Regions from separate parts of the Homo sapiens genome. Here all the other regions are linked to region 2. Evidence: promoter capture Hi-C in 16 types of primary human blood cells and fetal thymus (Javierre and others, 2016). All regions are on one chromosome and are shown on one strand. Each heading gives the region's core, a stretch centred on a gene start or on the middle of the fragment in contact. The rest is flanking DNA. Distances are from core to core; before and after follow the strand shown. Region 1 holds the start of SNORD14D (small nucleolar RNA, C/D box 14D). Region 2 holds the start of JHY (junctional cadherin complex regulator). Region 3 overlaps CLMP (CXADR like cell adhesion molecule). Region 4 has its middle 22 kb from the start of UBASH3B. Region 5 has its middle 17 kb from the start of SNORD14E.

Evidence for each region. The method cuts DNA at HindIII sites, captures the fragments that hold promoters and counts their contacts. A CHiCAGO score of 5 or more calls a contact.
Region 1: a fragment that was not itself captured here is called in contact with the fragment with the promoter of JHY in region 2 in 8 of 17 cell types (total CD8 T cells, naive B cells, M2 macrophages and 5 more); the score reaches 8.5 in total CD8 T cells.
Region 3: a fragment that was not itself captured here is called in contact with the fragment with the promoter of JHY in region 2 in 3 of 17 cell types (naive CD8 T cells, total CD8 T cells and naive CD4 T cells); the score reaches 6.7 in naive CD8 T cells.
Region 4: a fragment that was not itself captured here is called in contact with the fragment with the promoter of JHY in region 2 in 2 of 17 cell types (total CD8 T cells and M2 macrophages); the score reaches 6.3 in total CD8 T cells.
Region 5: a fragment that was not itself captured here is called in contact with the fragment with the promoter of JHY in region 2 in 2 of 17 cell types (megakaryocytes and naive CD8 T cells); the score reaches 5.8 in megakaryocytes.

What each region holds. Positions count from the first base shown.
Region 1 is chr11:123,058,171-123,060,870 of GRCh38, reverse strand. HSPA8 (heat shock protein family A (Hsp70) member 8) reads left to right here. Exons shown (of 9, transcript NM_006597.6): 3 at 73-278; 4 at 603-755; 5 at 843-1,398; 6 at 1,610-1,812; 7 at 2,041-2,239; 8 at 2,387-2,619. SNORD14D (small nucleolar RNA, C/D box 14D) reads left to right here and starts at 1,876; the gene lies at 1,876-1,962. SNORD14C (small nucleolar RNA, C/D box 14C) reads left to right here and starts at 1,449; the gene lies at 1,449-1,536. The HindIII fragment of the contact is 172 bases long and covers 1,325-1,496 here.
Region 2 is chr11:122,881,177-122,885,792 of GRCh38, reverse strand. It overlaps JHY (junctional cadherin complex regulator), which reads right to left and starts at 3,034. Exons shown (of 9, transcript NM_024806.4): 1 at 2,821-3,034; 2 at 1-32. RefSeq lists a silencer at 2,556-2,915. The HindIII fragment of the contact is 12,251 bases long and covers 1,955-4,616 here.
Region 3 is chr11:123,103,148-123,107,346 of GRCh38, reverse strand. All of the region lies in intron 1 of CLMP (CXADR like cell adhesion molecule), which reads left to right. Among named protein-coding and RNA genes, the nearest start is that of HSPA8, 43 kb to the right of the region's middle. The HindIII fragment of the contact is 4,616 bases long and covers 1-3,614 here.
Region 4 is chr11:122,631,399-122,636,119 of GRCh38, reverse strand. No RefSeq gene overlaps it. Among named protein-coding and RNA genes, the nearest start is that of UBASH3B, 22 kb to the left of the region's middle. The HindIII fragment of the contact is 2,858 bases long and covers 673-3,530 here.
Region 5 is chr11:123,038,784-123,043,005 of GRCh38, reverse strand. No RefSeq gene overlaps it. Among named protein-coding and RNA genes, the nearest start is that of SNORD14E, 17 kb to the left of the region's middle. The HindIII fragment of the contact is 6,954 bases long and covers 1-4,222 here.

The DNA of each region.
Region 1 (2,700 bases), core at 161-2,660, 180 kb before region 2:
AGTAATCATGGACTTGAGTTTTATCAGAAGAGCTATGAAATTGAAAGTGTTTTCATTTGACACCTTTTACAGATGCCAAACGTCTGATTGGACGCAGATTTGATGATGCTGTTGTCCAGTCTGATATGAAACATTGGCCCTTTATGGTGGTGAATGATGCTGGCAGGCCCAAGGTCCAAGTAGAATACAAGGGAGAGACCAAAAGCTTCTATCCAGAGGAGGTGTCTTCTATGGTTCTGACAAAGATGAAGGAAATTGCAGAAGCCTACCTTGGGAAGGTGAGGTTGGTTTTTCAGTATGGGGTGCATTCCGGAGTAGTTAAAAGCCCGATGACTCCCGGGGGCACTGGCACCTGGCGAGGGAGGGGAACAGATGGGGCTCAGCTCAGGGTTAAGACCACGTGCCCAACAGTGCCCTAGGCTCTCTAGGTAGATGGGTCTGTCAACACCAGAAACCAGTGAATCTTGACAATTACACAGTAATTTACATTTTGGTGGGGGGGGTGCTCCAGCTGTTCTTTCACCAGCATTAATCCATTTGCTGGAGTTTGCATATATGTAAGTATAATAGTTACCAATCTGTGGTCTTTTCCTTATTCCTAGACTGTTACCAATGCTGTGGTCACAGTGCCAGCTTACTTTAATGACTCTCAGCGTCAGGCTACCAAAGATGCTGGAACTATTGCTGGTCTCAATGTACTTAGAATTATTAATGAGCCAACTGCTGCTGCTATTGCTTACGGCTTAGACAAAAAGGTATGTACCATTTGTGATGCAAGTTCGGATTATTTTAAGATTAATTTGATCCATCGTAAATTTAAATGAGATTGTTTTTAACGGCAGGTTGGAGCAGAAAGAAACGTGCTCATCTTTGACCTGGGAGGTGGCACTTTTGATGTGTCAATCCTCACTATTGAGGATGGAATCTTTGAGGTCAAGTCTACAGCTGGAGACACCCACTTGGGTGGAGAAGATTTTGACAACCGAATGGTCAACCATTTTATTGCTGAGTTTAAGCGCAAGCATAAGAAGGACATCAGTGAGAACAAGAGAGCTGTAAGACGCCTCCGTACTGCTTGTGAACGTGCTAAGCGTACCCTCTCTTCCAGCACCCAGGCCAGTATTGAGATCGATTCTCTCTATGAAGGAATCGACTTCTATACCTCCATTACCCGTGCCCGATTTGAAGAACTGAATGCTGACCTGTTCCGTGGCACCCTGGACCCAGTAGAGAAAGCCCTTCGAGATGCCAAACTAGACAAGTCACAGATTCATGATATTGTCCTGGTTGGTGGTTCTACTCGTATCCCCAAGATTCAGAAGCTTCTCCAAGACTTCTTCAATGGAAAAGAACTGAATAAGAGCATCAACCCTGATGAAGCTGTTGCTTATGGTGCAGGTAACAATGGTATCTCAATTAACCCTAAAGGCAGGCAGGCCCAAGGTGACTCGCTGTGATGAGTGATTGTTAAACATTCGTAGTTTCCACCAAAAGCTTGGCTAATGATGGCAACACCTTCCTTGGATGTCTGAGCGAGTGATAGTTAAAACAGGAGCTATGTACTGGGTTTTCTTTTAACTTCTTTTAACGTTAACTTTTTGTTTGCTAGCTGTCCAGGCAGCCATCTTGTCTGGAGACAAGTCTGAGAATGTTCAAGATTTGCTGCTCTTGGATGTCACTCCTCTTTCCCTTGGTATTGAAACTGCTGGTGGAGTCATGACTGTCCTCATCAAGCGTAATACCACCATTCCTACCAAGCAGACACAGACCTTCACTACCTATTCTGACAACCAGCCTGGTGTGCTTATTCAGGTATGTTTCTGTACTTCTCTTGTTTGGCTTACTGATAACAGATAAAGGGAAGTCTTGACTGACTCGCTATGATGATGGATTCCAAAACCATTCGTAGTTTCCACCAGAAAGTCTTATGTTGGCCAGTTCCTTCCTTGGATGTTTGAGCGACCATTCTTCCTTAGCAGGACCCTAGCACTGTCACAGACCTGGAGTCCATTGTAGTAATTTGTTTTATTTCCTACCAAGGTTTATGAAGGCGAGCGTGCCATGACAAAGGATAACAACCTGCTTGGCAAGTTTGAACTCACAGGCATACCTCCTGCACCCCGAGGTGTTCCTCAGATTGAAGTCACTTTTGACATTGATGCCAATGGTATACTCAATGTCTCTGCTGTGGACAAGAGTACGGGAAAAGAGAACAAGATTACTATCACTAATGACAAGGGTAAGGAGGCACTGTCATCTGGTCTTGACAGGGATAATGGTATTTCAATTGAGTTACTGGTGCCTAAGGGCGTCTAGCTAAGAGAAACTAGAGTTACACATACACAGGTAATTTAAGGCTTTTACTTAGAGTTAATTTCTTTCCTAGGCCGTTTGAGCAAGGAAGACATTGAACGTATGGTCCAGGAAGCTGAGAAGTACAAAGCTGAAGATGAGAAGCAGAGGGACAAGGTGTCATCCAAGAATTCACTTGAGTCCTATGCCTTCAACATGAAAGCAACTGTTGAAGATGAGAAACTTCAAGGCAAGATTAACGATGAGGACAAACAGAAGATTCTGGACAAGTGTAATGAAATTATCAACTGGCTTGATAAGAATCAGGTTTGTGTTTTTTTTTTTTTTTTTTCCTCCCCCACTCAATGGAGGGGAAGGGGATGGTAAACCAAGCTTGAGCTGGATTTC
Region 2 (4,616 bases), core at 1,785-4,284:
ATATTTAAAGTTGTGGTTCACAAAAGCGTTACCTGAAAAAAAATATATTTATGTTACTCTGCGACCACTAAAATCTCAATACTGTCAACGTTAATCAAATATTTAAATGAGTAAGAGAACCTTGTTATATTATCTGCAGGCTTTTGTATGCACCCTTTTGTGTGTATAAGAAAGGTCTATTAGAAAAACAATTGTTTTTCTCTCTGCAGAAACACATCTGATGTAGCGCTCATAAGCAGCCTGAGTAATCGAATGCAGTTTTATTGATGAAATAAATGGCTGCTTGGAAGTGGATTCCTATTTCTAGCTTCCAAGGGCTTGTTACAGACAAGCCTGGACTAAGACAAATGGTTAATTATGGACAGTACTTTGATAGCCTTATTTCAAATGCCCAAATAACTATGGGCAATATAAATATGGTCCGTAGTTATTCATGGATAGAGTAAAACAGGTTCAGGGGCTATGTTTTGGAAAGTAAAGTAAGAAGAAAGAAGAGTGTAGTTTTCCATAGTTGGAACTGTAAATGGGGAAGCTGTTTTGTTCCTAGACCTATATGGGCTGGCAACATCATTTGGAAAAGACTTTCTGATAGCCAGGTTGTGACTAGATAGGAACATATAATTTAGGTGGACATAAATGGAGATCAACCTCATCCGGTATTTTTTAAAACCCATAATAACGATTAAAACTGTTCAACAATCACGCCTGTAATACCAGCACTTTGGGAGGCCAAGGTGGGCAGATCGCTTAAGTCCAGGAGTTCAAGACCACCCCGGGCAACATGGCAAAACCCCATCTCTACAAAAAAAAAAAAAAAATACAAAAAATTAGTGGGCATGGTGGGATGGGCCTGTAGTCCCAGCTACTCGGGAGACTGCGGTGGGAGGAGGGTCACTCGAGCCGGGCAGGCAGAGGCTGCAGTGAGCTGGAGTGCCACTGCACTCCAGCCTGGGTAACAGAACGTGACCCTATCAGAAAAAATAAATAAAACTGTTCAACAAAAGATTTAGTGGTCTTGTGAATTCTGCCACTGAGCGATCCAAAGCAGAGCCTGGAGGTCTACATTACCGAACGGGATGCTATCCTGGGGAAAGTTGAGTGGGTGGGAGATTGGCCTGAATTACAGCTAAGAGTTAGCTGGAGTCCCTTCCAACTCACTTACGAGTGTGATTCAAGTGAACCTGCACTGTCTGTAAGGGTCATTATAAAGAGCCATGGAAAGGGTGCTTTGAGTTCATGTAGGACCGAACGGACATGATGTTTTTGGATTGTGCTTCCTTTCATCTCTACCTAGCATTTCTATTTTGGTCTATTTTCTATCTCACTGCCTTTATACCCATTTTTTTTTTTTCTGTGAGTCAGGTAACAGAAACCTTTACCATTAGAAATTGCTGTAAAATTTGTCTTAATGGCTTGCTCTTGTTCTTTTGGCAAATCCTAACTTTAATTAAATGACACAACCTTATTACTATTCCTAGGATTGCTTATAATGTTGACCTTGTTGCTAATGTTTGCAAGGAGCATCATCAAATCCTTGGAGGAAAGCACCTTAACAAACAACAGGCAAAAGGGAACGTTCATATGTAAATACACACGAAGTGAGTTTTCTATTGAACTCGAAGTCTGCCCTGTTGGTAGACTAACATATTATTCTCTAATATTACAGACTGGTTTGTTGTATTATTTTGTCTCTTATTTTTAAAATACATATTGCATTCTGCCTTATTATTTTAATTGTTGCTTTTTTAGGATGTGCCAAGAAAGCAGCAAATCTATCAAATACTAACACATTTTAAGTAAAAGAGATTGTTTAACACCGGTTTTACTGGAGGAGCTAAGGTCACTGAATTTGAGATCCTGAAGAGCAAGCTTAAGCGTTATAGTGCAACTTAGAATTACTCTTAAAATAATTCAGTCCCTTGAACTTCTCTTCTTAAATGAAATAGGCTAAGCTTTCTTGGAATGAATAAAAAATAAAACAGTAACCACAGAAGATAATTTTGCTGATGTTAGCAGATTCCTGAAGTTTGCTAAAGTATGCAAAGAGCAAAGCCAAACGCCACAAAAGCTGGGTTTTCTGTGGAGGCCTGATCTTACCAAAACATGGGGTGGAAGAAGGAACAGCTGACAGCTTGAATAAGTTAGAAAGTGGGCGTTTAAATTTCATGAATGTGGCTCCCTCCTCCCGTCCAGTGAAAAAAAAAAAAGGTTGTGCCGCTGAAATTTCTGACCAAGAGAGGTGACTAGTCTCCTGAATAAACAAGACAGCGATAGATCCGATGGCACCTAGGGACTAAGAAGCGGCCAGCTCCCCAGGGATCCCTGCAGTGGGTCTAGTCCACTAGCATGGGACAATCGAACTTTCTCCTGGAGGGGAAAAGGAACCCTGCTTGGGCTCACCAAGATGAATCGTAAAGAAAAAGGAACGAACCCTGGTTTGAAACAGGCCGGAAGCTGCCCAGGGGAGGCGTTCGGTTTTCTACCTTTGCTTGTTCCTGAGGAACAAGGCCTGTCACAAGGGGCGTTTGGAGGTCCAGGAAGTGACAAGTCGGCGGGCCTGGTGCCCGGGACCGGTCCTAATTGACCGGGAACAGGGCTGCTCTGGGTGCCCGGGCGCCGAAGCCTCGCATGGCGGCCCCCCAGCCCCTTGTCGCGGCCTCGCCCCCTTGTCGCTCCCCACTCCGTCCCGAAGGCTCCCGCGCCGGCTCCTCCCCAGCTTGCTTGGGTGGTTTCCTGCCGTCCCCATCCCCAGTAAGCCCTTCCCGTTTCCCTCCCCGGGCGCGCCGCCCACCCCAGATCCGGGAGGCCACCGCCCGTCACCTGCCCGGCGCTCCTCCGCGGCCGCGACCCGGACGGGCCCCGCATCCTCCCGCGCCGCCGCCGCCGCCGCCCGGGCCCCCGCCCGCCCCGGCGCTGCCCTGGAGACCGCAGACAACACAGACGCCGGCGCCACATGGGCGGGGCAGGACCCGACCTAGGATCCCGCGTCCCGAACCGCACCCCCGGCCCTGGCACGGAGGCTGCAAACGGCCGTAATAACGACATCGGGGCAGAGCCGGAGGAGCCCGAACGCCCCGGGAGAGGCTGCCTCGCCGCCCGGACTTCCCAGCGCCGGAGGGCAGAGGCCACCCGGGGGAGGAGATCTTTGCCACAAATAAAACTACTAAAATACGCGAGGAACTGCTACAAATCAAGAAGAAAAGGAACCCAATTAAATAATGGGTAAATGGAAAGGTATTTCACAAACACACGAGAAATCTAAATGGCCAATAAATATCTGTTTATTGAAATGATGCTTTAATTCATTAATAATCAGAAGAAGGCCAATTAAAACCACAGCGGATAATACCACACTCACCATAAGTTGAGTCGAAAAGTCCAAAGTTGAAACGTCTGGCAGCGTCAGGTGCTAGGGAGGACGTAGTGCAAAGAACCGTCACCTTCTGCGGGCGGACGTGAGAACCGATGCAACCAACCATTTTGGAAAATGGTTTGACATTAGCCAGGATATGTATGCCTTGGGATCCAGCAATTTCACTTTTAGGTATTTACCCTAAGAAGTGCGTGCTCCTGTGCATGCAAACTGGAAATAACTGAACTATCCATCAAAAGAATGGTTAATTAGATTATGCTATTGCCTATACTGGCATACTACATAGCACTGTAAATGAATGAAATACAACTATGTGTAACAATATGGAGGCATACTAAAAACACAATTTTGAACAACAACAAAAACCCAGAAAAAGTACATACTGTATGATTTTTGTATATAAAAAACAGGCTAAATTACACTCTACAGTGATTGTGGCTCCATACTTAGTGGAGGAAACTATGAAAAAAAGCAAAAAAGCAATTTTATGGGAAACACTACCCACTTAGTGATTCCCATCAAGTTAGGATTGTGGTCGGTTCTGGCAGGTAGGGAGAAGAATGTTTTTGAGACTGTATTTCCTGACCTTAATGATGGTTATATAGATGTTCATCTTGTAAAAATTCATTAAGCTGTACATTTATGTATGGGTAGAATATTTCACTATCAAAAAAGGTTTCAAAAAAGAATAAAGAAAGGAAGCATTAGGAATTATCTTCACATTAAAACAACAAGTAGATTTGAATAACTACCTTCAAAGATTGGTTTGAGGCCAGGTGCAGTGGCTCACCCTGTAATCCCAGCATTTTGGGAAACCGAGCTGGAGGATTGCTTGAGCCCAAGAGTTCAAGACCAGCCTGGGGAAAATGGCAAAACCTTGTCTCTACGAAAATTTTTAACAATTAGTTGAGCGTAGTGGCGCGTGCCTATAGTCCGAGCTACTTGGAAGGCTGAGGTGGGAGGATCACCTGAGCCCAGGAGGTTGAGGCTGAAGTCAGCCAATATTGTGCCACTGCACTCCAGCCTGGGTGAGAGTGAGACCTTGTCAAAAAAAAAAAAAAAAAAAAAAGAGAATTCTTCGGCCAGGCACAGTGGCTCATGCCTGTAATCCCAGCACTTTCGGAGGCCTAGGCGAGTGGATCACCTGAGGTCAGGAGTTCAAGACCAGCCTGGCCAACATGGCAAAACCCCGTCTCTACTAAAAATACAAAAATCAGCTGGGCGTGGTGGTGCACGCCTGTAG
Region 3 (4,199 bases), core at 57-2,556, 220 kb before region 2:
AGGCAGGAGAATCGCTTGAACCCAGGAGGCCGAGGTTTCGGTGAGCTGAGATCACGCCACTGCACTCCAGCCTGGGTGACAGAGTGAGACTCCGTCTAAATTAAAAAAAAAAAATTTCATTAGCCAGGCATGGTGGTGAAAGCCTATAGTCCCAGCTACTTGGGAGGCTGAGGTGGGAGGATCACTTGAGCCCAGGGAGTTCAGGCTGCAGTGAGTTATGATTGTGCCACTGCACTCCAGCCTGGCAGAAAGAGCATCTGAGACCCTGTCTCAAAAAAAAAAAATGCAGCAAGTACAATTATTATTATTATTATTTTTTTTTTTTTTTGAGACGGAGTCTCGCTCTGTCGCCCAGGCTGGAGTGCAGTGGCTCAATCCGGCTCACTGCAAGCTCCGCCTCCCGGGTTCACACCATTCTCCTGCCTCAGCCTCCCGAGTAGCTGGGACTACAGGCGCCCACCACCTCGCCGGGCTAATTTTTTGTATTTTTAGTAGAGACGGGGTTTCACTGTGTTAGCCAGGATGGTCTCGATCTCCTGACCTCGTGATCCGCCCACCTCGACCTCCCAACGTGCTGGGATTACAGGCGTGAGCCACTGCACCCAGCCACAAGTACAATTATTAATAGTAGTTGCCATTTGCTGAGTGTGTGCTACATACCATGCGCCAGTGCTAGACACTTTCATGCATCATATGTAATGCTTACAATAACTTCCAAAGTTGATGTTTTTATTTTCCTTTTACGGAAAAGTAAACAACTTGGAGCAATCAGGGAATTAATTGGTCTTACAGCCACTACTCAAGTCCAGACCTCTCAGACTCCAAAGCTCATCCTCTTTCTATTGCATCATGCTGTGTCTTGAACTGCATACAGTGTTCCATAAACAATCTGGAAGGCAGGCACGTGCGCGCGCGCGCGCGCACACACACACACACACACACACACACACACACACACACACACCTCCTACAGAATTATATATGTAGCTGGGGTGAAGGGAAAACTTCCCGTCTGCCCGCTGAAGGTTCATTGAAAAGCACTGACAAGAGGCAGATTAATAGGAGAAAAGGCATACAAATTTAATAAACTGTTCAAGAGTGTCCAATCTTTTTGCTTCCCTGAGCCACACTGGAAGAAGAAGAATTATCTTGGGCCACACATAAAATACACTAACAACAGCTGATGAGCTAAAAAAAAAAATAGAATAAAATCACAATAAAATCTCATAATAGCAGGGCATGGTGGCTCACAGCTGTAATTCCAGCACTTCAGAAGTCTGAGGTGGGTGGATCACTGAGGTCAGGAGTTCGAGACCAGCCTGGCCAACATGGTGAAACCCCGTCTCTACTAAAAATACAAAAATTAGCCAGGCGTGGTGGCGTGGGCCTGTAATCCCAGCTACTCGGGAGGCTGAGGCACAAGAATCGCTGGAACCCGGGAGGCGGAGGTTGCAGTGAGCTGAGATTGCGCTACTGTACTCCAGCCTGGGTGACAGAGCAAGATTGTCTCAAAAAAAAAAAAACAAAAAACAAACAAACAAAAACCACAGTTCCTCCTGCCCATCTCTTTGAAGGGGGTCTTAAGGTTCAGGAGAATCTATGAGAAAATGTAAATACGGCTTGGCACAGTGGCTCACACCTATAATCCCAGCACTTTGGGAGTCCAAGATAGGCAGATCACCTGAGGTCAGGAGTTTGAGACAAACCTGACAAACGTGGCAAAACCCTGTCTCTACTAAAAATACAAAATTAACCAGGTGTGGTGGCGCATGCCTGTAATCCCAGCTATTCACGTGGCTGAGGCAGGAGAATCGCTTGAACCCAGGAGGCGGAGGTTGTGGTGAGCCAAGATTGTGCCACTGCACTCCAGCCTGGGCGACAGAGCAAGACTCCATCTCAAAAAAAAAGAAAGAAAGAAAAGAAGAAAGAAAGAGAGAGAGAGGAAGGAAGGAAGGAAGGAAGGGAGGGAGGGAGGGAGGGAGGGAGGGAGGGAAGGGAAGGAAATAAATGTAAATACCTTTTAGAGGATAAAACTTTAAACTACTCTTAATTGAGTGTAGGCAGCAGTCATGTGAGAAAAAGTCCCTTCTAGCAGAGATGAGCAGGGGAAGAGAACTAACATTTTAATGGGAGACTCCTATGTGCTTTCACAATGCTAGCTGCTTTCCTCAGTGTCTTCTTTAATTCCCATTTTGCGGATGGAAACACTAAGGCTCAGAAGGTAATTTTCTCAAGCTCCCAGAGGTCCTTTGATAAGTGCCTGAGGTGCATGCAAAAGCTCCCACTTAGGGAGAGCTTGCGGCTTCCCTGAAGGCATTCTGCCTGTGCCTAAGGAGGCAGTCCTTACCACTGCCACCACTCAGCACCTCTTCCCATAGGTAAATGCTGCAACAGAATCCTAGCAGAGACTATTCCCTTACTTGCAATTCTGCCACTAATTAGTTTTGTGACGTGACATCTCAATTCTCTGGGGTGCAATCTCCTCATAAGTTAAACTGATGATCTCTAAAGTCTTTCCTAACAAAGATGAATCTTCCAGTGCCCACGCAATCCAAGGCTAGCCACAGGATGGTCAGACTGCCCCTTTCCTCTCACCCATCAGATGGCAGACAAGCTCAGCAGCCCCCATGAGCACTGCTAAGCCTTGGAGTTAAAGACAGAGGCCGGACGCGGTGGCTCACACCTGTAATCCCAGCACTTTGGGAGGCTGAGGCGGGTGGATCATAAGGGGTCAGGAATTCGAGACGAGCCTGGCCAACATGGTGAAACCCCGTCTCTACTAAAGATACAAAAAATTAGCTGAGCATGGTGGCGCCTGCCTGTAATCCCAGCTACTTGAAAGGCTGAGGCAGGAGAATCGTTTGAACCTGGGAGGCGGAGGTTACAGCGAGCTGAGATGACGCCATTGCATTCCAGCCTGAGCAACAGGGCGAGACTCCGTCTGGGGAAAAAAAAAATAGAACCCAGGACCGGGCGCGGTGGCTCATGCCTGTAATCCTAGACTTTGGGAGGCTGAGGCGGGCAGATCACTTGAGGCCAGGAGTTTGAGACCAGCCTGGTCAACATGGAGAAACCCCATCTCTACTAAAAAAAATAGCTCGGTGGGTGGTGCAACCCTGTAATCCCAGTTACTCATGAACCCGAGATCACAGCACTGCACTCCAGCCTGGGCTACAGAGGGAGAATCTGGATTAAAAAAAAAAAAAAAAAAAAAAAAAGCCAGGCATGGTGGCTCAGGCCTGTAATCCCAGCACTTTGGGAGGCCGAGGCGGGCTGATCACCTGAGGTCAGGAGTTTGAAACCAGCTTGGCCAACGCAGTGAAATCCCGTCTCTACTAAAAATACAAAAATTAGCCAGGCATGGTGGTGCATGCCTGTAATCCCCGCTACTCAGGAGGCTGAGGCACAACAATCACTTTAACCTGGGAGGCAGAGGTTGCAGTGAGCCGAGATTGCGCGACTGCACTCTAGCCTGGGCAACAGAGTGACACTCTGTCTCAAAAAAAAAAAAAAAGAGACAGAACCCAGGCCCCTCTCTGCTTAGGTGGGTTTAAAAAAGAAAAGAAAAAAAAGTACAGAAGACCCTTTGAGCAATGTAAAAAAATGTAAAAGCTTTAATGTAAAAAAAAAGAAAGAAAGAAAGAAAAAAAAAGGGACAGAAGGAGAAGGACCTTAGAAATCTGTAGAAATCTCAGTGGCCTCCTGGAGTCTAACGAACTGAAGTTCAAGGAAGACTAGAAGTGTATGCGCCCTGATCTCATGGCTCCCTGCCTTGATGAAGCCATTTGTATTCACAGAGGGGCTCCTCCCTGCACTGCTGTATTTAATTCTGGATATGGTATAAATAGGACTTGGCTGACTGTCAAAGCACACCACCCGCCACAATGTTCCAGTTTTTTGGGGACATCAGACGAATCTGAGCCTTTGATTCCCTCTAGTGGCTTAAATTGGCAACTTTCATAGCTGGCTCTTGGCATTTGTTATTGAATGTTTAAGTATCTATTGTATGCACTAAATTGGTGCTGGGTTCTCTAGCTCTGCCTGGAATGTAGGGCACTGGTTTCATTTGAGCATTTTTGTGTCCGGTGGAAAGTGATCAGGGTTAAGCCAGAGCTCCTTCTTACAAAGCTCCTTCTTAACAAAGCTTAGCTTAGTACAGTGCAAACCAGTGAATTTCCCAGCTATTCTAAAGCTGCTTT
Region 4 (4,721 bases), core at 852-3,351, 250 kb after region 2:
TGCCTCAGCCTCCCAAGTGGCGAGGATAACAGGCACTTGCCACCATGCCTAGCTAATTTTTGTATTTTTAGTAGAGATGGGGTTTCACCAGTTGGCCAGGCTGATCTCGAGCTCCCGACCTCAGGTGATTCACCCACCTTGGCTTCCCAAAATGCTGGGATTACAGGCGTGAGCCACTGCACCTGGCCTTTGTATATTTTTAAATAATATCATAATACAAAATGAGCTACATCAACACTGAAGGGCTACAGAATGTTTCCCCCTTTATTTATCTATTTAACAGAGGTGGGATCTCTCTATTTTGCCCAGGCTGGTCTCAAGGGATCCTGTGCCCTCAACCTCCCAAAGTGTTGGGATTATGTGTGTGAGCCACTTCACCCAGGCTTTTTTTTTTCACTTTAAAATGGTATCCATTTCTGAAGGAAAACATCAGCACGTTTTTGGGGATATAGAAGGACTGACTTTTGATGTTGAGAAATTGTTTGAATAGGATGTTGGCAGTACAGTTAAAAATGAAAAATTAGGTAAAAGAGATATTTTGGAAGTAAATCCACCCTTTCTAGAAGATTGAGACAACTTAGATATGGGACATTAAGGAGAAATGTTTGAGTCTACAGGACTAAGAAAATGGTAATGCCATTCTCAGAAACTGGTTATTCAAGAAGAGAAGCTTATTTAGGACAGGAAGAGAGGAGTTTGCTAAATTTATTTCGGATATGTTGAAGAAAGTGTCATGGCAGCAAACTGGAAATATGGAAGTGGGACTTGACAGATGTAAACGCTTCTCTTTCGAACCAAAGACACACCATATACCCTACTCCACCCTGGACCGGGGGCCTCTGTGCTCAGCACACTATAGATAGGGCTGAGTATAAAAACCACACACAGGGCTGGGCACGGTGGCTCACACCTGTAATCCCAGCACTTTGGGAAGCCAAGGTGAGTGGATCACTTGAGGTTGGGAGTTCGAGACCAGCCTGGCCAACATGGTGAAACCCTGTCTCTACTAAAAATACAAAAATTAGCCGGGTGTGGTGGTGCGTGCCTGTAATCCCAGCTACTAGGGAGGCTGAGGCAGGAGAATCGCTTGAACCTGGGAGGTGGAGGTTGCAGTGAGCTGAGATCGCGCCGCTGCACTCCAGCCTGGGCAACAGAGGGAGACTCTGTCTCAAAAAACAAAAAACAATACAACAACAACAACAACAACAACAACAAACCACACACAGGGCCCAAACCAAGGCTGGCTCCGTGGGACCAGAGATACTCTCAGTCAGCCTGAACCAAGCCCTAAACTGGAAGGCACCAGGAGCGGTAGGAACAGTAGCCGGCACCGCGTGTGGGGTGGGGCAAAGGGCCTGGAGCTCGCCTTACCCTGCATCCAGGAAGTTGCTGGCCTGACTTCCAGCCACCACCAGCTGTGTGAGTTGTCACTAAAAGGCAATTGTAACTGCCTCCTCTTTTTGGTTCAGATTACAAATGGTAACTAACCAACCCCCAAAAAGAAAAAAAATGTTCCGGTTTGGAAATCTGAGACCATCTGTTTCTCATTCTATTTCCCCTCTCTTTTCTGGATTTTTTATATTTGATCCTCTCCCTCTCTCACTCGCTCCCACTCCTGAAAACACACAGTTCAGCCAGGAGCATAGTGACCTTATTTGACTATCTTTTCTTTAATGAGAATGCTGGATTTGTTATTGGGATTAAATTTGAAAATTCCTTGTTTCCATTCAAAATAGATGCCTTGGATTGTTTACTTAAAAATGTTTTTTCATAAAAATTGTTTCTGTATTTAATCTAGATAATAAATAAATCTAAATGAAATAAAATAAAAATAAACAAAGTCACATATGATGAAGCCACATGTAGTTTTGTTGAAATCCATGCAAAATTCCATCTTAAAGTCTTTTTTTTTTTTTTTGAGACAAAGTCTCACTCTGTCACCCAGGCTGGAGTTCAGTGGCACGATCTCGGCTCACTGCAACCTCCACCTCCCAGGTTCAAACGATTCTCCTGCCTCAGCCTCCTGAGTAGCTGGGATTACAGGTGCCCACCACCATGCCAGGCTAATTATTTAATTTTTAGTAGAGATGGGGTTTCTCCATGTTGGCCAGGCTGGTCTCGAACCGCTGGCCTCAAGTGATCTGCCCCCCTCAGCCTCCCAAAGTGCTGGGATTACAGGCAAGGGCCACCTCGCCCAGCCTCTTAATGTCTTATTAACAGACTCATTTAAATTTAATGAAATGGCTGGATGTGGTGTCTCGCGCCTGTAATCCCAGCACTTTGGGTGGCTGAGGTGGGAGAATCACTTGAGGCTAGTAGTTCCAGGTTAGCTTGGGGAATATAGCAAGACCCCGATTCTACAGACAACTTAAAAAATTAGCCAGGCTTGGTGACACACCTGTAGTCCCAGCTACTCAGGAGGCTGAGGTGGGAGGATTGCACGAGTCCAGGATGTTGAGGTTGCAGTGAGCTGTGATCACGTCCCTGTATTCCAGCCTGGGTGATACAGCAAGTCCCTGTCTCTAAAAAAAATAAAAATAAAAATAAATTTTTAAAATTAATCAGAGGATCAGTTACGGATTAAAATGCAATATTGAACTCTCTGTATTGGAAGCAGCAACAGTGTTGCGAGGACTGCTTCTCTCCTGGGATTCAGGCATGGGCCGGCTGGCTTTAGAAACTCTCTATTTCCCTATAGTCTGGTGTTACAGGTCCCTCTTGTGTTGGTTGTTAACATTGTCTTGCTTCTGTTCTAGAACCATGAGAACCTGATTCTGTAATTGAGTTAATCAGCATATTGCAATCAATATTCTCCTCATCACCATCATCATCACCATCAATAGCTAGGTGTACATACAGAAGACAATGGGAAATCAGTGTAGGGTCGTTTAAAACCACGTGCTTTGTAGCCAGATGGATCTGAGTTCGAACTGTTATTTCTCAGCGATATTACCTGGGGCAAGTTAATTACACTTTTGTGTATTAGTTTCTGCATTGATTAAGTAGAGGTGATAATAATACTCATTTTCAAGAGAAAATAGGATAATGTATATAAAGTGTCCGATGTAGAGTCTTAAAAAATGTACTTCCTTTCCTATTCACTTCTTTTTCTAAGGAAGACAGAATTCTTTTTTATTTTTATTTATTTTATTTTATTTTAGAGATGGAGTCTTGCTCCATCGCCCAGGCTGGAGTGTAGTGACAAGATCTCAGCTCATTGCAACCTCTACCTCCCATGTTCAAGCGATTCTCCTGCCTCAGCCTCTCGAGTAGCTGGGACTACAGGCACCTGACACCATGCCTGACTAATTTTTGTATTTTTAGTAGAGACGAGGTTTTGCCATGTTGGCCAGGCTGGTCTCAAATTCCTGACCTCAGGTGATCTGCTCGCCTCGGCATCCCAAAGTGCTGGGATTACAGGCGTGAGCCACTGCGTCTGGCCCAGAAATTCTTGAAAAGTGAGTAAAGATGTAATCCAGGCAAATTGGATGTGCTGTGAACTTATCAAAGGATTGAGTAATTGTTAAGCTTCCTACATAATGACAAAGCAAAATTTTAAAAAATGACAAATTAGTCAAAGTATCATTTTAACCCATCATTATGCCCAGTAGAGGACCCCTTTGCTTATATCCTGTTTCCCTGTCTTCCTTCCTTTACTGTCCCCGCTCCGGAAGGCTTTGAAGGTCTTGGCTTTTCTTCTTGCGGTTGAAGTCTGGCAAGTGCCTGCTTGCTGCTTCTGTCCTACGACCCTGCTTGTAGCAAGTCCTCAGGTCAAGATATAAACACATTTTATTGCAATTAGTAGGGCAAGTTGTGTGTACAAAGTATTTGCTAAGGCACTACTGATTATACGTAATCATGCTTCTGCTCAACATAAAGGATTTCTCCTTCCTCTGAATTCATATGGGACGTGCAGTGCAAAAATTCATTGAACCCTTAGCATACACCATCTTGTTGTTTATACTACTTGTTCTAATATATACCTTTCCAGGATTCTTGGGGCTGTCTCAATTCCTCTTTGAATTTTTACCAACAAGCCTAGGCTTGACCACAAAGTCAGCTTTGGTAAATATTTATTGTATTAAGTTGAATTGTGTATCTTGTTTGCCTGAGGATACTGGAAATATTTCAAAGAAAGAAATTTGGTTCTCTACTTCTTTGTACCCCCTTTTTCCTCTTTTTAACCCACCATGATGCTCTCGAGAGGATCAGTACATCTTTGATAATATTCACAGTAAGTAATAGAACAAAGCCGACTAGAATTTTAATTTGCAAGCATCCAGCCCAGGACTGAACTTGCTGACAACAACCCTGCCAAAGGTCATTCCCCATTTGCCAGAGCAACTGTAGTTCTGGGGAATGCAACACTTATCAAGGCAGCTATTTCAGACAGAAATCTTATTTTTTTTTTTTTTTTTGTGACTAGAGACAGGGTTTCAGTATGTTGCCCAGGCTGGTCTCAAACTCCTGGCCTCAAGTGATCCTCCTGCCTTGGCCTCCCAAAGTGCTGGGATTACAGGCACGAGCCACTGTGCCTGGCCCAGAAATCTTTGTATGGGGTTACAGTTTTTGTCCCTTTAGATCTAAAACCTATGCATTGGAGGAATTGAAAACTCTTTTAAACCTGCTTTCTACACGACAGCCCAGCACATATTCAAGCTCTTTGTAGATTCAAGATAGCTCTTGAACCAGACATGGTGACATGTGCCTATGTTCCCAGC
Region 5 (4,222 bases), core at 510-3,009, 160 kb before region 2:
TTTGTGGTTTTTTTTTTTTTTTTTTTTTGAGACAGAATCTTGCTCTGTCACCCAGGCTAGAGTGCAATGGCATGATCTTAGCTCACTGCAACCTCTTCCTCCCGGGTTCAAGTGATTCTCCTGCCTCAGCCTCCCAAGTAGCTGGGACTACAGGTGCGCACCATCATGCCCAGCTAATTTTTGTATTTTTAGTAGAGACAGGATTTCACCATGTTGGCCAGGCTGATCTCGAACTCCTGACATCAGGTAATCCACCTGCCTCGGCCTCCCGAAGTGTTGGGATTACAGGTGTGAGCCACCACGCCTGGCTTGATTTTACATTTCTAATCTTATTTGATTGCAACAATAATGTCACAAGGAGGCAAGGACAGAACCTCTTAGACAGAAACCTGGAATATTTACATTTTTTTAGGCTCTTAGGATATTAAGAAATGTCAAACCAAGATTATAAAAATTGTGATATATTTAAAACTTTATATTTAATGAGTGAATGCTTTTATTTTATTTACTTATTTATTTTTCTTTCTTTTTTTCTCACATTTCTCTGAAGAGTGAATGCTTTTTAAAATGCAATGCTGGGCTGGGCGTGGTGGCTCACACCTGTAATCCCAGCACTTTGGGAGGCCGAGGCGGGCAGATCACGAGGTCAGGCGATCGAGACCATCCTGGCTAACACGGTAAAACCCTGTCTCTACTAAAAATACAAAAAATTAGCCGGGCGTGGTGGTGGGCGCCTGTGGTCCCAGCTACTCGAGAGGCTGAGGCAGGACAGTGGCGTGAACCGGGGGGAGGCCAAGATCTGGCCACTGCACTCCAGTCTGGGTGACAGAGCGAGACTCCATCTCAAAAAAAAAAAAATGCAATGCTGGCCAGGTATGGTGGTCCATGCCTGTAATCTCAGCAATTTAGGAGGAAGAGGCAGGAGGATCACTTGAAGTCAGGAGTTTGAGACCAGCCTGGGCAGAAAACCAGATCCCATCTCTACAAAAAAATTTTTAAAAAGTAAACAAAAACGCAATGCTGGCCAAGTATGGTGTCTCCTGCCTGTAATCCCAGCATTTTGAGAGGCCCAGGCAGGAGGATCACTTGAGCCCAGGAGTTCAACATAGTGGGAGCCCATCTCTACAAAAAGTTTAAAAAATTAGCCAAATGTGGTGGCATGTGCCTGTAGTCCCAGCTACTCGGGAGGCTGAGGTGAAAGGATGGCTTGAGCCCAGGAGGTCAAGGCCACAGTGAGCTGTGATTGTACCACTGCACTCCAGCCTGGATGACAGAGTGAGACGCTGTCTTAAAACAAACAAACAAACTACCTAAAAAATGCAATGCTAAATACTCGTCCTAGACAAAAATGTATTTTAAAAATCCCATTAGTGTGTGCTGCAGAAGGGGTGGCCCAAAAATGACTCATACATTTCCAACGAGGAACATCTCCTATTTTTTTTTTTAATTGAGATGGGGTTTTGACATGTGGCTTAGGTTGGTCTGGAACTCTTGGGCCCAAGCAAGCCACTGGTCTCAGCCTCCCAAAGTGCTTGGATTATAGGCATGAGCCACTGCTCCTGGGTGATCATTTCCTTTTAGTCTTATCAGTATTTCTCTTTGGCTGAGTGTGTGTGTGTGTGTGTGTGCGTGTGTGTGTGTGTGTGCGTGTGTGTGTGTGTGTGTGTGTGTGAGAGAGACAGTCTCACCTTATCGCCCAGGCTAGAGTGCAATGGCACAATCTCGGCTCACTGCAAGTCCACCTCCCGGGTTCAAGCGATTCGTGTGCCTCAGCCTCCTGAGTAACTGGGATTACAAGCGCGTGCCACCACACCCGGCTAATTTTTTGTATTTTTAGTAGAGACAATTTCACCATGTTTGGCCAGGCTGATCTTGAACTTCTGACCAGCCTCCCAAACATGGGAGGATTTTGGGAACTTTGACCTCCCAAAGTACTGGGATTACAGGTGTGAGCCACCGTGCTTGGCCTGAATGTGTATTTATTTTAAGATAATGTCAAAATCTAAACTTAAGGCCCCAAATTAATGTGAGGTTCAGGTGAAATGACCAGTTCTCTCTTTCCACCAGCACTTGCCATTGTGAAAAGCCATGGTGCAAATGTCATTCCCATTTTTACAAACGAAGAAGGCGTCTCAGCAAAGGTATTGTTTCTGCCTGAAGGCTGCAGAGCAAATGTGGTAGTGGAACTTGATCGGGAGGCGGAGGTTGCAGTGAGCCGAGATCGCACCATTGCACTCCAGGCTGGGCGACAGAGTGAGACTCCTTCTCAAAAATAAATAAATATAAAAATAATAAATAAATAAATAATAGACAACTTAAAATTTATAAATAAATAAATAAAAGACTGGAACTTGGGTTTTGGCTGTAAGCCTAAACACTCGAGACACCAAGCCTAACTGAGGGGGCTATTCATTTTGGACAGTGAGTGCCGAATATACCTCTGGGATCTGCCAAGGAAAGTGGGCTGCCACGGAGGTAGTGAGATACCAGGCTCCAGGAGCCACCAACAAGAGGTCTGACTAAAATGATTTGGGCTTGCTGCAGAGGATATTCAAGAATGGGGTGTCAGGGTGCGAGGAGGAGGGAGCTGCGTTAGATTACTTCCAGCTTCCTTTCAGACACCCCCCAGCATAGGGGCCAAGCCCAAACCGACAGCACAGCTCCACTCTCCGGGGGAGGCGGGCTGGGCTGTGCATTCATTTCCCCACCTTTTCATTCGTGGCAGCCTGCCACCGGTTGTTGGGCATCCATAGCTTAATTTGAACAAGTGGGCTCTGGTTTCCTGAGGCGAACTGTCCGGGCGCCTCAGCCATCCATCAGTATTCTCTTCAGTCCCCTGGCAGCTGCTCACTCCGGGCTGGCTCAACCTGCACTGACCTCATCTTCCCACACAGAGCAGAGGAGGATTTGGAAAAAATTAGTTATATTAGTGACTCCCCGAAACACTCCGTTTACTTGTGATATGACAAATATTTCAGCCATTAGGATCTCTCCGTCTCTTATCATCTTAAATGCACTCACTTACATTCCAAATCACTACTTAATTTAAAAGCCTATTTGTTGAGATTGTGACAGGCCCAGGGAAAAGGAGAGACAGACACTCACTCAGCTCTGGCTGGAATAGAATCAGATTTGGAACTTTGATTGAATCTTTCTCCCCAGGACTTATGCTCAGTCAGGTATCATCTAAACACTTAGGGCACGAGAGACTTCCAGGGCACCCACACTGTGGAGATTTATAAGGTCTGCTTCGAAGTAGCCATGTGGCATGGTGACCTTGGGCAAATGACTTCATTCCTGGGTGTCCTTATGCTTTCTGACCCCCGGATACGGTGACGCATTTGGTGAATTTCTTTTTTTTTTCTTTTTCTTTTTTTTTTTTTTTTGAGACAGAGTCTCGCTCTGTCGCCCAGGCTGGAATGCAGTGGCATGATCTCCCCTCACTGCAACCTCTGCCTCCAAGGTTCAAGTGATTCTCCTGCCCCAACCTCCTGTGTAGCTGGGATTACAGGCGCATGCCACTATGCCCAGCTAATTTTTTTTTTCTTTGTATTTTTAGTAGAGACAGGGTTTCACCATGTTGGCCAGGCTGGTCTCAAACTCCTGACCTCAAGTGATCCATCTGCCTTGGCCTCCCAAAGTGCTGGGATTACAGGCGTAAGCCACCGTGCCTGGCCTGGTGAACATTTATTGAACCCCTAATAGGTGCTAGGCAACATGATAGATTCTGAGGGTACAAAGGTGAACTTCCTGCAAAAAAATTGTTCTTAGTTTCTTATTAATAACCAGCATTTATAAAACACTATTTGCCAACTATGTGAAATACTCCACATGCCTTCTTTCATGTAATCCTTGCCATAATCCTATGAGGTAAGCTACATTGTATTCCCATTAACAAATGAGGAGACTATTCTGTCTGACTCTTCAATCCATAATGTTAAGCACCATGCAGTACCGTCTCCCTATATAGAACTTACCCTATTGGAATTTGTATGTTTGTTTGTTGTTTTGAGACAGAGTCTCACTCTGTTGCCCAGGCTGGAATGCAGTGGGGCAATATCAGCTCACTGCAGCCTCCGTCTCCAGGGTTCAAGCTGTTCCCCTGCCTCAGCCTCCTGAGCAGCTGGGACTACAGCCATGCGCCACTACACCTGGATATTTTTTTTTTTTTGTATTTTTAGTAGAGATGGGGCTTTGCCATGTTGCCCAGGCTGGTCTCAAA